Regions from separate parts of the Homo sapiens genome. Here region 2 is linked to region 1. Evidence: promoter capture Hi-C in 16 types of primary human blood cells and fetal thymus (Javierre and others, 2016). All regions are on one chromosome and are shown on one strand. The core of a region is centred on a gene start or on the middle of the fragment in contact, and the rest is flanking DNA. Distances in the headings are between cores, read along the strand shown. Region 1 holds the start of GPA33-AS1 (GPA33 antisense RNA 1). Region 2 has its middle 14 kb from the start of CREG1.

Region 1 (4,735 bases), core at 1,145-3,644:
CGGTGGGCGTGGTTGCAGCCCTCATTATCATTGGCATCATCATCTACTGCTGCTGCTGCCGAGGGAAGGACGACAACACTGAAGACAAGGAGGATGCAAGGCCGTGAGTGTCTGGGCTGGTAGCCTGTTGGAAGGGTCTGGGGAGACTGGAAATATGCTTCCCAATTCCTCACAGCCTCTTCTACTTGCAGCACCCCTTGGGGTATATCACCCCCATTTTGTGCTGATGAAACAATGACCTGTCCAAGCCATAAAATGTGCATTGCAGCCCCAGGACCTGCCTCCCAGTCCTGTGGTTTTCCAGTCTGGGAGCTCAGGGCCGGGCTTCCTGTGGCATGACTAGAGCCAAGTGTGGCCTGGAGCCCCTGTCACGGGGCCAGTTCCTCCTGGGCTGGTAAAGCCAGCCTGTTCCTGTAACCCCCTCAGCTCATGCGTGGAACAAGTCTGTGGCACCTTTACTCTCAGCCCAGCCTTTCAGCCCAGTGTCCTCTGCAGCTGGTGGGTGGGGAGGAGGTCTGGAGGCTGCTCTTCCTGTAATGCACATGAGGCCCAGCTCCCTTGAGGGTCCACCTGAGAGCAAATCCTTCCCCTCTGTCCCCTGCTGCCCTGCAGGAACCGGGAAGCCTATGAGGAGCCACCAGAGCAGCTAAGAGAACTTTCCAGAGAGAGGGAGGAGGAGGATGACTACAGGCAAGAAGAGCAGAGGAGCACTGGGCGTGAATCCCCGGACCACCTCGACCAGTGACAGGCCAGCAGCAGAGGGCGGCGGAGGAAGGGTTAGGGGTTCATTCTCCCGCTTCCTGGCCTCCCTTCTCCTTTCTAAGCCCTGTTCTCCTGTCCCTCCATCCCAGACATTGATGGGGACATTTCTTCCCCAGTGTCAGCTGTGGGGAACATGGCTGGCCTGGTAAGGGGGTCCCTGTGCTGATCCTGCTGACCTCACTGTCCTGTGAAGTAACCCCTCCTGGCTGTGACACCTGGTGCGGGCCTGGCCCTCACTCAAGACCAGGCTGCAGCCTCCACTTCCCTCGTAGTTGGCAGGAGCTCCTGGAAGCACAGCGCTGAGCATGGGGCGCTCCCACTCAGAACTCTCCAGGGAGGCGATGCCAGCCTTGGGGGGTGGGGGCTGTCCTGCTCACCTGTGTGCCCAGCACCTGGAGGGGCACCAGGTGGAGGGTTTGCACTCCACACATCTTTCTTGAATGAATGAAAGAATAAGTGAGTATGCTTGGGCCCTGCATTGGCCTGGCCTCCAGCTCCCACTCCCTTTCCAACCTCACTTCCCGTAGCTGCCAGTATGTTCCAAACCCTCCTGGGAAGGCCACCTCCCACTCCTGCTGCACAGGCCCTGGGGAGCTTTTGCCCACACACTTTCCATCTCTGCCTGTCAATATCGTACCTGTCCCTCCAGGCCCATCTCAAATCACAAGGATTTCTCTAACCCTATCCTAATTGTCCACATACGTGGAAACAATCCTGTTACTCTGTCCCACGTCCAATCATGGGCCACAAGGCACAGTCTTCTGAGCGAGTGCTCTCACTGTATTAGAGCGCCAGCTCCTTGGGGCAGGGCCTGGGCCTCATGGCTTTTGCTTTCCCTGAAGCCCTAGTAGCTGGCGCCCATCCTAGTGGGCACTTAAGCTTAATTGGGGAAACTGCTTTGATTGGTTGTGCCTTCCCTTCTCTGGTCTCCTTGAGATGATCGTAGACACAGGGATGATTCCCACCCAAACCCACGTATTCATTCAGTGAGTTAAACACGAATTGATTTAAAGTGAACACACACAAGGGAGCTTGCTTGCAGATGGTCTGAGTTCTTGTGTCCTGGTAATTCCTCTCCAGGCCAGAATAATTGGCATGTCTCCTCAACCCACATGGGGTTCCTGGTTGTTCCTGCATCCCGATACCTCAGCCCTGGCCCTGCCCAGCCCATTTGGGCTCTGGTTTTCTGGTGGGGCTGTCCTGCTGCCCTCCCACAGCCTCCTTCTGTTTGTCGAGCATTTCTTCTACTCTTGAGAGCTCAGGCAGCGTTAGGGCTGCTTAGGTCTCATGGACCAGTGGCTGGTCTCACCCAACTGCAGTTTACTATTGCTATCTTTTCTGGATGATCAGAAAAATAATTCCATAAATCTATTGTCTACTTGCGATTTTTTAAAAAATGTATATTTTTATATATATTGTTAAATCCTTTGCTTCATTCCAAATGCTTTCAGTAATAATAAAATTGTGGGTGGAAATTCTTATTTCTTTTTTAATGTGGATTTTGTTTGCAGTAAGATAAAGCTTGGGTCTCATGGATCATCTCTACTCACCATAGCACTCTTCTGCTTCCTAGGGGAGGTGAGACAAGGTAACAGATTTGAGAATCCTGGGGTCCCTCTGCTTGTGGCCGCAGTAGGGTCAGGCAGTGCCTCTAGTGGTTGCTGGGAATAGGACAGATTCCTGCCTGCTGGTGGAGGTATATTCCAGGAGTCTGCAGTGTCAGGACACCAGGAGGCCTGGGTGTCGGTCCACGTGCTTGAAGGAAGATGGTGGAGATGCTCTAGCCAGTTCTGCTTCCTATGATGCCCCTTCTGAGAAAGGGGCGGGGCAGTCCTCTTGTTCTGTCACAGAGAACTGTGACGCTTCCTCCTCCAAGGCAACTTCGCTCCGCTGTGGGCTCTTGGCTTTGACATGGACTCTCCTGCGAGATATTCAAGGTCTGTTCTTCAGTGTCCTTTCCTGTGCTCCCTCCTGTCCGAGCACTTGTCACACAGTACTGTGTGCCTATTATACCTGTGTACAGGTCTGTCTCTGCCTCACCCTGTATGATTTGTAAGGATAGGAACTGTAGCTTCTTTATGGCCTGGCATGTGTTGACCCTTGACAAAGGTTTGTTAAATGAATAACATTTGGTATCACAGTATCTTGCCCAAGGACATCTCCTAGCTCTCTAGATACTCTGAGGTGCCTTCCAGTCCTCACGGTGCAAGGTTCCACAAGCATGTTCTTGAGGGAGCCACGGAAGCAGAGGCGGCCACCTTCCCCCAGGTTTGACTTGACTTCTCTCTGCCCCTCAAAGGACTCTGAAGGTTCACCTGCCTTAGCTCCAGGCTTAGGGAAGAAAAGGAGGGAAATCGAGACCCACTGCATTAATTCAACAACAAATATTTTGTGAGCATCTACTACGTGCCAAGCAGTGTGCTGTTTGCAGAGTATATAAAAGTCACTAAGAAACTGTTATTCAGGAGGAGCTAAAATCTAATGGCGGTCACAGACATAGAAACATAATTACATGAGCAAGAGAAGGGGCTACAGGACACAGGAGGGCCTGAGTAACTCAGCCTAAGGGAGTTCAGGAAAGCTTCAGAGAGGAGGTTGCATTTGGGCTGCATCTTGAAGAAGAATGAGGAGTTTTACAAGTGGAAAAGGGCTGGTGCTGACATTTCTTCTGTCCTCCAATGCATGTTTCTATTACTTGGGTGTCAAATCATATTATCACTCAGTAAGACTACAGTTTCCTGCTGAATTTATTTCGGTCCACAGACTCTGGGAATTGGACTGTTGTAGGTTCTTATACAATCAAAATTAGCCCAGCAATGCAGTCTCCTTAGAATGTTAGGCATCCCTTCCCAAATTATGGTTTCCAGCTGCTGGTTCAAAGACTTTATGGTGTTTTAGAAGAGAGACAAATGCTACCCATTAATTGAGGGAAGATTGTGTACTATAAACCCTTATTAGGCACTTCAGACAGTTTTCCATATAATCCCCACTCGCAGTTTCAAATACTTGGGCATATGCCAATGTTAGGTGTTCATGTTATCACCTAAGGAGGGACTCTGGCTGCCCAGAGAGGAATCCATGAACTGATACACAGCTTGGTAAATTAGCCACTCTTCAGGATCTTGTTATTTATTTATTTATTTATTTTTAATTTTACTTTAAGTTCTGGGATACACGTGCAGGACGTGCAGGTTTGTTACATATGTATACATGTGCCATGGTGCACCTATCTACCCGTCATCTAGGTTTTAAGCCCCACATGCATTACATATTTGTCCTAATGCTCTCCCTCCCAAAAAGTCTTGTTCTTAAGCTGCTTTTGTGACACAGTGACAGGGCCTCAGCTCTCAAATGCAGAGTCACATTAACCAAGCTCACAGTGCCTGATGTACAATGCTTATAGCAGCAGCACTTGCTCTGGGCCAGGTACTGTTCTAGGCCTTTTCCATAGAACATCTCATAATCTTCACCCTATGAGATAAGTGCTATTATTCTTCCCATTTTACAGATGAGGAAGCTGAGACACAGTGAATTTAAGCAATTTGGATCAACACAGAATGTCAATTTGCTATTTATAGCTGTCAAGTAGACCAGCCTTTCTGTCCACCTGACCCAGGCCATCTCACCCCATGGGCACTATGCCCTCAGTTGCTTACTGGGCATGGAATCAGAATAAGAGAAGTCGGCTACTATCAAGGAGCTCTCATCTTTGATGGCAGTCTGTATCAGTAGGTGTCATATCCCCTGTGGAAATTCTGGAAGATTCTCTGGTCTTGGCTCCATCCCTGGATATTCTGGCTTGGGGCCCGGGGCATCTGCAGAAGTGATCCTATTGTTAAGTCTGGTCCGATGGGGAGGGCCTCTTTGGGGACGCTTGGCTATTGAGTTTGCTCACCGAGACTGCCTCTCCTCAGGTAGGTTTCCAGAAAGACTCAGCCTGGTTTCTGTCTGTGACGGCCATTTGTCTGCACTT
Region 2 (4,735 bases), core at 915-3,414, 520 kb before region 1:
GGGGGATGGGGGGCAAGGTGAGGGAGGGCATTAGGACGAATACATAATGCACGCAGGGCTTAAAACCTAGATAACGGGTTGATGGGTGCAGCAAACCATCATGGCACATGTATACCTATGTAACAAACCTGCATGTTTTGTACATGTATCCTGGAACTTAAAGTAAAATAAACAATTAAAACCAAAACAAACAAATAAAAAAGAATGTGCCTGACATAACAGGAGTGTTGTGGGGATCACATGAAATTACACTGAGTAAAAATTCTATGGTGCTGTTTTATTGGGATCACTGGAATTGGATTGGAATTTCAAAACTGGAAGTTCCAATTCAGCAAAATTGGAAATTCAAAAAAGCTATGAACCTGTTTGTAAGAATATTCATCAAAAAGTAAAGTTCATAAATGTAAGTATAAATTCAGCGTAGTGAGCACAGGCACTGGGTCAGATGGAGGTGGATTTGAAAATAGTCTCCACCATGTATTTGCTCTGTGGCCTGAGAAAATCACATCAATAACATGGAGATAATAATACCTGTTTCAGAGGGTGATTGCAAGAATTACAATTAGATAGTATATCAAAGTAGGCTAGGCTATACTATGGTAACGAATAGTCCTTAAATCTCAGTGACTTCAAATAACAGGTTTATTGTTTATTTCCCACTCATAATACGTGTTTACTGTGGTCCCTGCAGACCAGCTTTGGTGGGAGAGGGATCTACTCTACACTGATCCAAGATACAAGTGGACAGAGCACCCACAATCTGGAACACAGCAACCTAGGGTAAGGGAAAGAGCCTTCTGGAGGGTCTGAATGGAAGTGATACATGTCATTTCCATTTAGATCTCAGTGGCCAGAACTAGTCATATGGCCCCACTAACCCTAAGTTGGCCCCCCTTGTGCCCAGAAGGCAGAGAGCCAGAAATATTGGGTGGACAGTATAATGCCTACCACAGATAGCACACATGATTACCTTTGGCACAAAATGCCCACTCAGATGTTCCTCCCACACACACAAACACAAATGTTATACACACACACACACACACACACACACACACACACACACCCTTTTTTTTTTTTTTTTGAAACAGTCTCATACTGTCACCCAGGCTGGAGAGCAGTGGCATGCTCACAGCTCCCTGCAGCCTTGATCTTCTGGGCTCAAGTGATCCTCCCACCTCAGTCTCCCTAGTAACTGGGACTACAGGTGTGTGCCACCATGTCCAGCTAATTTTTTTTTTTTTTGTATTTGTTGTAGAGATGGGGTTTCTCCTTGTTGCCCAGGCTGGTCTCAAACTCCCGGGCTCAAGTGACCCACCTACCTTGGCCTCCCAAAGTGCTGGGATTACAGGCGTGAGCCACTGTCCCCAGGCTTTCCTCCCTTTCTATGGAGGAATAAGATGAATTTAAGCAGTATGCTTGAAATTTATTTGATCAGCATATACTGAGTAACTACTTAAAGTTTCCCTTTGAAATTTTGTAAATGTGAAAGAGGGAGTTTTAAAATGGGCCCTAGAATTTATTTAAAAGAAGAAATATATTTCATTTAACAAAATGCTCAGAAAGCCATTTTATTGTGGAAAAATACTGCCATGCCTCGTTGGCTGTGCTAAGAGAAGACATTGAGCAAAATTATTGTACATATTAAAGGGAAAAGAATTTCAAGTTTCTTAAGGCAGCCTGGGAAGCTTTCTAGAATAGAGACTGAAACATTCAATTTTAAATAATCTGCCGTGGTACATGGCAATGTAACGCCTCCCCTAAATCTTCAACAAAAACCTGCTATGCTTTGGGTGAGCAGTGTTTGTTGCAGGGAAATTAAGGCAAAGTAGTGTTTGTTGGGTTAATTCAGGACAAGAAGCAGAGAAAGCTTCCAGCAAGATAAAAAATCTTGCAGAAAACTATTGTGAACAGCATATACCCCTGGGAATCCTCAGTTATTCTGTGGGGAAATGCTGAGTTTCCAAGCCCAGCATATGAAATATTTCCATTTAAATGTTAAAGGAAAAAGTGACACAACTAAACTAAAGGAAACGGGGCTCTCTAGGCTGCTAAGTTTTAAATAACTAGTATAGCCCTCCGATATTTGTGGGTTACTTTGTAGTTGGTTAGCATTTAAAAAATCATAGTTGAAACTGATTTCTTTGAGAAATGCTAGCCTCTTATTAAGCAAGTTCAGTATATAAAGTATTGAAATGAGTTCCCTGCAGAGACGTTGCTATTATAATACAGCAAGTCAGGCATCCATTTCCCTGTGCGGCTGAGACAGGAGCTGCTCCAGCCTTTCTTCCCGAGCATCCCTCTGTTCTCCTGATGAAGTCACTCCGTAACCCACAGCCCTCCAGGGCAGCTAAGCCAGCAATAAGAAAGGAGGTTAATTTACCTCTACCTGCCTCCTCCCAAAGAGAAAATCACATTTTTGAAATCCACATGAAACTTAGGGTCATAATAAGCTTATGTGTGAAGAATGTAGGTGGTTTGCGTTGTTTGTAGAACAAAACTAGGCTCTGCGAAGAGGTTGCAGTGAAATAAACATTTTATGGAGCCCTTCCTGCAGTGTTTTTTTTTTTGTTTGCTTTTTGGAGGTGGGGCCTACTAAAAATTTCTGTAACATGTCTGCTTTTAAAAACATTTGCCCATCTTTACCCATGAAGTATTGAGAGCGCTTATTGAGGGTTAAAGTGCTTATTAGTGGGAGTTGACCTCATGGCTGCATGGCCAGAGAAGCCCTGCAGTGGGAAGGGGCTGCCCTTGTCTTCCTGTCAGATCTTGAAGGCCTGGCCAGAGCATGTTACCCTCTTTAGGCATTTTTCTTTTTACTTTCAATAAGGGGTCAGGCTTTTAAAAACATTCTATGTCATCCTTAAGGAAAAAATAAAAACAAATTATTGTGAATGGCCAAGAAAGTCTATCAGGAAGGAAATAAAGTGGAGAGAAAAACAACCACAGGCTCTTTCACCAACTCTTGGAGAAGCAGGAAACATGGCAACATCAGGGCGAATTTTTACTCATCCTTGACCTCTGTCTGGAGAGGGGCAGTGACTCTACCTCCCACCCAGGACAGGATGCTGTGGTCGTGAGGAGGGCACCTCTGGGCACAGCACCTACCTGGGGCTATGCATTCCTTCTGACCCAGCCTCTCTGGCACCTGGGAGTGACTTGTGGAAAACAGGATGTCTGTTAGTCTACTCACTAAATGCTAGATCTTGAGCAAGGTCTGTAACCCCCAGGGGCTTCAGTTTCCTCAGCTGTAAGATGGGGCTGAGAAAAAGAGCTCGTAATCCCTTACCCAAGACCCTTGGGCCAAACGTGTCTCAGAATTCAGGATTTTCAGATCTGAGAAAGGTAAGAAGCTGCCCAGAAGTATCTATTTTATGTACTACACAGAAAAGAAAAGAATTTCACATTTCTTGAGGCAGCCTGGGAAACTTCCTAGAATAGAGAAAGTGGTGTCTGGAGCAGTACCTGCAATCGAATACACTGAGAGACACCGAAGGACCAAGAAGTTTCCACTGAGGCTGTGGCATGTCCTCGTCCTCCACAGCTGTTCTTCCACCCACTCTAACACGTGACCTTAGCCCCTAACTGCTCCTCCTCATCCCTCTTAATGAAATCCAAATTGCCTGAACAATGGTGGCTGATGTGCAAGAATTCCTCTCTCTTCTAAAATCCATCCCTCACCTACTATTCCTGAACTTCCTGAATTAAGGCTGACCCCCCTGCTAAGGCCCTATAACAGCAATAAAAACAACAACAACAAACAACAAACCCAAAAACCCTCCCTCCTCCCCCAAGGTATTTGAGAACACTCCTTTCAGGGACTGCTTCTGCCTGGCAGTCTGGATTAAAGTCTACGGTCATGGTGTTCCGGTTGCTTTTCCTCCACAACATTCATAGTTCTGCAGTGAAACATAGGAACACCTGCGGAGCACAGGATGGATAAAAAACATGAAGAGTCTCACCGAGGGAAGGTGTGCTGGCAAATGACTGTTTTCAGAGCTTTTTGAATTTTGGAAATGAGGATGTGAAATTGAGGACCTGTGGTATTATGTCGTAGAGTTGATGTGAAAATGAAGTGAGATAGTACATGAAAGTATTTGGAATAGTACTGGGCACACAGAGCTTGATAAATATTTGCCATGGTGATTATGCTGAGAGTTTTATGTAACCAAGGAGCTGTCACATTGGGGTTCAGACTCACAGGTGCACAGAGGGACCACAGCTTAGGACAACACCATGGGAGAGGGTATCCTCTCATCCCTGCACCCTGAAAAACTTTGCAATGGCAAGTTTCCAGCCATACCTGCATCTGGCTCTAGGCTGCCTGTTTCTGGAAGAGATCCTGTGCATCCTCAACAGCTCCACATACAGGCTCTGAATGCAGCCTCTCTGCAGAAGACTCCAGTTTCCCAGTTATCAAATGATTTATTTTTGTACAAGGCAATCGTAACTGACCCCATGGCTTGAAGAGCAGCCCAGAATTCTTGGGCTTCTTACTGGGGCACATAGATAGAAAGAATATATTCTTTTGATAGAAGTAAAAGAATGTAGAGTGATATCATCTTAAATTGTACTTCAAGTTATAGAAACTATGGAAGGAAACATAGCTAAAAACATTTAAAACAAGCTTGTGCAACCTGTGGCCTGTGGGCTGCATGCAGCCCAACACAAATTCGTAAACTTTCTTAAAACATTATGAGAATTTTTTGCGATTTTTTTTTTTAGCTCATCAGCT

Evidence for each region. Contacts are between HindIII fragments. The CHiCAGO score rates a contact against its expected background, and 5 or more counts as called.
Region 2: a fragment that was not itself captured here is called in contact with the fragment with the promoter of GPA33-AS1 in region 1 in 3 of 17 cell types (fetal thymus, total CD8 T cells and naive CD4 T cells); the score reaches 8.4 in fetal thymus.

The regions. Positions count from the first base shown.
Region 1 is chr1:167,050,344-167,055,078 of GRCh38, reverse strand. It overlaps GPA33-AS1 (GPA33 antisense RNA 1), which reads right to left and starts at 2,394. Exons shown (of 6, transcript XR_922249.3): 1 at 2,313-2,394. GPA33 (glycoprotein A33) reads left to right here. Exons shown (of 7, transcript NM_005814.3): 6 at 1-103; 7 at 613-2,243. The coding sequence ends at 745. The HindIII fragment of the contact is 1,060 bases long and covers 2,286-3,345 here.
Region 2 is chr1:167,565,437-167,570,171 of GRCh38, reverse strand. No RefSeq gene overlaps it. Among named protein-coding and RNA genes, the nearest start is that of CREG1, 14 kb to the right of the region's middle. The HindIII fragment of the contact is 583 bases long and covers 1,873-2,455 here.